Regions from separate parts of the Homo sapiens genome. Here region 1 is linked to region 2. Evidence: promoter capture Hi-C in 16 types of primary human blood cells and fetal thymus (Javierre and others, 2016). All regions are on one chromosome and are shown on one strand. Each heading gives the region's core, a stretch centred on a gene start or on the middle of the fragment in contact. The rest is flanking DNA. Distances are from core to core; before and after follow the strand shown. Region 1 has its middle 42 kb from the start of JDP2-AS1. Region 2 holds the start of NEK9 (NIMA related kinase 9).

Region 1 (2,700 bases), core at 100-2,599, 260 kb after region 2:
ACAGATTTTGGATTTATCATACAGGGGATTTAAAATAGCTAATATGTTAGGAACTCTACTGGAAAAAGCATACGACATGGTAGAGCAGATGGTAATGTAAGCAGAGAGCTGAAAACTCTAAGAAAGAATTAAAAGGAAAAGCTAGAAATCAGAAACACTGCAACAGAAATGAAGAATGCCTTTGATGGGCTCATTAGTAGAATGAATTGGCTAAGGGAAGAATCAGTGAGCTTAAAGATATGTCAATAGAAATTTCTCAAACTGAAATGTGAAGAGGAAAAAAAGAGAAACAAACAAAACAAAACAGAAACCCCAGAACTGTGGGATAACTTCAAGAGATATAACATACACATAATTGGAATGCCAGAAATTAAAGGAGATTACACAGCAAAAGAAATATTTGAAATAATAATGGTCAAGAACTGTCCAAATTAGTGACAGACACCAAACCTCAGATCCAGGGAGTTGAGAGAACATCAAGCAGGATAAATATCAAAAATATCTACACTTAGGAAAATTGTATTCAAATTTCAGAAAACCAAAGACAAAGAGAAAAATCCTAAAAGAACCTGGAGGGGAAAGCCCCTTTACCTATAGACAAACAAGGATAATACCTACAGAGAATCTTTTGTCAAAAACCATGCAAGCAAGAGGAGAGTGTAGTAAAATATTAAAATGTTGGAGAAAGAACCCCTACCAACCTAGAATTCTATATCCAGTGAAATTATCCTTCAAAAATAAAGAAGAAATAAAGACTTTTCAAACAAAAACAAGATATCATTGCCAGCAGATTTGCCCTGAAAGAAATTTTAAAAAAATAATCCAGGGAGAAGGTTAGTGATATAAGATCAGATCCACATAAAGAAGGAAAGAGCACTGGAGAAGAAATTAATGGAGGTAAAACAAAAGTTTATTTTTTTGCCGGGTGTGGTAGCTCACGCCTGTAATCCCAGCACTTTGGGAGGCTGAGGTGGGTGGATCACAAGGTCAGGAGTTCGAGACCAGCCTGACCAACGTGGTGAAACCCCATCTCTACTAAAAATACAAAAATTAGCCGGGTGTGGTGGCATGCACCTGTAATCCCAGCTACTCAGGAGGCTGAGGCAGGAGAATCGCTTGAACCCAGGAGGCAGAGGTTGCAGTGAGCTGAGATTGTGCCACTGTACTCCAGCCTGGGCGACAGAGTGAGATTCCATCTCAAAAAAAAAATTATTTTTATTCTTAATTGATCTAAAAGATAACTGTTTAAAGCAAAATAATAAGTTATTGGGTAAATTATAGAATATGAATAAGTGAAATGAATGACAGCAATGTTATAAGGGAGAAGAGGAGGAATTGGAAATTCTGTTATAAGGTACCTACAATACATGTGAATTAGTATAGTTTTATTTGAAGTGACTTAAATTAGTTGTAATTGTATATTGCAAATTCTAGGCTAACTACTAAAAGAAATTTTAAAGGAAATATAATTGATATGCTAACAGATAAAATGAAATCATATAAAATGCTCAATTAAATAATGCTCAGAGAAGGCAAGAAAAACAGGGAAGAAGAAAAAGAAGCAAAGAATAAGTACAATGAATAGAAAACAGTTACAAACATGATAGATTTAACCCAACTATATCAATAATCACTTTAAATGTGACTGGTCTAAGTATACAAATTAAAAGACAGAGATTATCAGAGTGGCTAAATAACACAACAAGACACAGCTATATTTTGCTTATAAGAAACCCATCTTAAATATCATGATTCAGATAAGTTAAAAGTAAATGAGTGGAGAAAGACACACCATGGTAACACTAAGAAAACAAAGCTGGAGTAGTTCCATTAACTTCAGACAAAGCTGACTTTGGAAAATGAAAATTCTCAGGACTAAACAGAGGAATCACACATTGATAAACGGGCCAATTGTCCAAAAGGACATAACAATCCATAATGTGTATGCACCTAACAACAGAGCATCAAAATGTGTGATGCAAAAATTTACAGAACTGGATGGGCGCAATGGTTCACGCTTGTAATCCCAGCACTTTGGGAGGCTGACAGGGATGGATCACCTGAGGTCAGGAGTTGGAGACTAGCCTGGCCAACATGGTGAAACCCCATCTCTACTAAAAATACACAAATTAGCGGGGGTTGTGGTGGGTGCCTGTAATCCCAGCTACTCAGGAGGCTGAGGCAGGAGAATCGCTTGAACCCAGGTGGTGGAGGTGGAAGTGAACTGAGAGCATGCCACTGCACTCCAGCCTGGGCAACAAATAAAACTCCATCTTAAAAAAAAAAATTGACAGAGCTGATGGGAGAGTTAGGCAAGTGCACTACTATAATTGGAGACTTCAACACCTCTCTTTCAGTCATTGATAAATCAAGCAGGGAGAAAATCAGTAAGGATATAGTTGACCTGATCAGAATTACCAATCAACTTGATTTCATTGACATTTATAGAATATTCAAAGCAGCAAGAGCAGAGTATACATTCTTCCCAAACTCACATGGAACATTCACCAAGACAGACCACATTCTGAGCCATAAAACACACCTTAACACACTTAAGAGAATAGAAATCATACAACGTATGTTCTCAGACCACAATGGAATTAAACTAAAAATCAGTAACAGAAAGGTGGCTGGAAAATCCAAAAATATTTAGAGATTTAACAACATACATTTAAAGAACACAAGGGCCAAAAAAGTCTC
Region 2 (2,829 bases), core at 161-2,660:
AAAGAAAACAGACTACTAAGAATAACTAACTCTAACATCATACATTAACGTGGCATCAGGATAAAAAAGAACACTTAAAAATATTCTCTTGCAACCACTTCTCTCCTTCTCCATCTTTCAGCCTTAAAAGTATGCTGGCTTGGAACACACACCAGAACTGCAGATGGATTTCCGACGGATGAATCACCTTCAGCAACCCCAGCAAGTTCTCATTAAATGTTTACCCTAAAGTAAGATTTTATGATCAAATCTAGTGTATCGTTAGTTTTTGGAAGTAGAATAATCACTGCAGGGTTTTACACTAGTATATATTAACTTGGGATTCCGTGATCCATGGATCTCTCCAAAGGATGTGCATATGTGCAAATGTGTTGATGGAGGGGGCAAGATTACTTTGCTTAGGTTATCAAAGGGGTCCTTGTGCCCCCCAAATTAAGAACTAATGGCTTAGAATATACCAACAAAGTATTTCCCATGCATAAACCCTGCAAGATAAACACTGATAAAGAACCAACACACAAAGATCTTCCCAATGAGCTTCAAGAAAAGCTTCCAACTGAGTGATCACTGCTGAACTTAAAGATAATGACAAAAATAACGGAGTTGCCACGGGTGTGGGGATTTTGAAGCTATGCCCCTCCTCCTCACCCCGACCTTGGAGAACTATATATACAGCATGAGAGGAAGGAAGTTTTGGCAATACCTCACATTCGTATACCACTTTAATTTACAGAACAGAGCCTTCGTTTGATTCTCAAGATAATCTTAAAAAAAAAAGAAAAAGATGATTTCAAGGTATTATCAGTAAGCCCATTTTACAGATGGGGAAACTAAAGCTCAAGAGACGGTTAGGTGACTTAGGACAATCAAAAATGACTAGTCAAACCAATGATCTAGCCAATTTCTAGTGCCGGTGAGTGGGAAGAGTGGTGAAGACCCTAAGACATATACCCCGTGGGCGCCTAAAGCACTAAGCTCACGACGCTGGGAAAGCGGGGCCGAGAAGGAGGGACTCGGGGCGACCCGACAGCGCCAGACAGGGCGGCCGGCGCCGAGGGCCGCTACCTCGGTGCGGCGGTACAGCGTGGCTTCCCCGAAGGCGCCGCGGCCCAGGACGCGGATGGGGATGTAGTGCAGTTCCTCCTGCTCCGCCGCGCCGCCGCCGGCTCGCGGCCCCTGACTGGCGCTAGGCCCCGGACTCGAGTCCCCGCAACCCCCGGACTCGCTCCCAAAGTCCGAGTTGATGGAATCGCAGTGTCGCTCGTACTCGCCCAGCACCGACATGGCGGCGGCCGCGGGCCTTGGGGACCAGCCTGCGTATGCCCGGAGGCCCTGGCCGCGCTGCGTCCCGCTCGCTTCAGATGCCGGCCCGCGGATCCGTCAGCCCAGCAACCCCGCGAAGCTCGATGGTGGCTCCTGCCCCCCGACCCGGAAACAGTTCTCTGTGTTTCCGGCCTGGCTGAGTTTCCTCCGCCTTTGCTTACCCTCTTGGCTAGTCTAGCGGCCAAGGCTTCCCGCTTTCGGGGAAGGCCTGCAAAGTGAGGCCTCGGGCTAGGGTTGGCGGGCGCGTGGTGGGAACCGCGTGGAACCGAAGGGCTCCCACGGGAACAAGGGCATCACTGACGGTACGGCCTCTCGGGTCTATTGACCCTTCTCTGCCTCCCCGGTCCGGACTCATACAACTTGGAGGCCCAGAGGTCGTCCAGTCTCATCTTGACGTCAGGTCTGTGACAAGAGGGTGATTGGGGAAGCATTCCCAGTGTACACCTTCTTCCCCATTCCAACGTTGGACAGCATTCTTTTTTAGAGAGATAGTATAGTAAAGATAATATGGCCGGGCAAGGTGGCTCACGCCTGTAATCTCAGCATGTTAGGAAGCCGAGGCGGGCGGATCACCTGAGGTCAGGCGTTTGAGACCAGCCTGACCAACTGGTGAAACCCCGTCTCTATAAAATACAAAAATTAGCCAGGCGTGGTGGCAGGCACCTGTAATCCCAGCTACTCCAGAGGCTGAGGCAGGTGAATCACTTGAACCCGGAAGGAGGAGGTTGCAGCGAGCCGAGATCGCGCACTACACTCCAGCCTGGATAACAGAGCGAGACTTTGTCTCAAAAAAAAAAAAAATAATAATAATATAGACAGCCTAAATGTCTGCCTCCGGTCATCTCGGTCCCTGGGCCGAGTTCTTTCTCCCAGGGCCATCCTAAGTCCCTCCCTCTTCTACACAACTCCAAAAATATTTTAAGTCAACTCTCCTGACACTTTCCTTCTCCCCCGTCTCTTTTTCCAGATTCAATTTATTCTATGTGTTTTTCCAGATATTTGACCATATGATATCATGAAACATTCTTTGAGCACTTGGTGCCACACACTGTTTGGGAACAGGAAATCTGCAATAATGTTCTCCCTACCGTCAAGTAGGAAAACAGCAATACGGTGAACAATAGGTGTTCCATCAGTTATGTGACCTTGGGCAATTATGTGACCTTGGGCAACTTCTCATCTCCAAGCTTGTTTTGTTGTGAGAATGTGGTCTACATCACAGACATAACAGCTAACATTTATTGAGTGTTATGTTCTGGGTACTATGCTAAAGGTTTTTTACGTATTATCTCACATTATTATGTATTATCCTATGTATTATGTATTATGTATTATCCTAACATTCCCATTTTACAGAAACAGAGGTACCTAAGTAACCTGCTTAATGTGACAGACCTAGTAAGAGGGAGCTGGGAAGTTGAACCCAGCAATCTGAAAAAGCAGGATGTGATGGGGCTAAGAGAAAGCCATGTGCCTAGCCGGGCGTGGTGGCTCACACTTGTAATC

Evidence for each region. The method cuts DNA at HindIII sites, captures the fragments that hold promoters and counts their contacts. A CHiCAGO score of 5 or more calls a contact.
Region 1: a contact is called between a fragment that was not itself captured here and the fragment with the promoter of NEK9 in region 2, in 1 of 17 cell types (monocytes). The highest score is 12.3, in monocytes.

The regions. Positions count from the first base shown.
Region 1 is chr14:75,384,390-75,387,089 of GRCh38, forward strand. No RefSeq gene overlaps it. Among named protein-coding and RNA genes, the nearest start is that of JDP2-AS1, 42 kb to the right of the region's middle. The HindIII fragment of the contact is 3,002 bases long and covers 1-2,700 here.
Region 2 is chr14:75,125,638-75,128,466 of GRCh38, forward strand. It overlaps NEK9 (NIMA related kinase 9), which reads right to left and starts at 1,411. Exons shown (of 22, transcript NM_033116.6): 1 at 1,066-1,411. The coding sequence starts at 1,284. RefSeq lists enhancers at 1,275-1,324, 1,335-1,464. The HindIII fragment of the contact is 1,961 bases long and covers 548-2,508 here.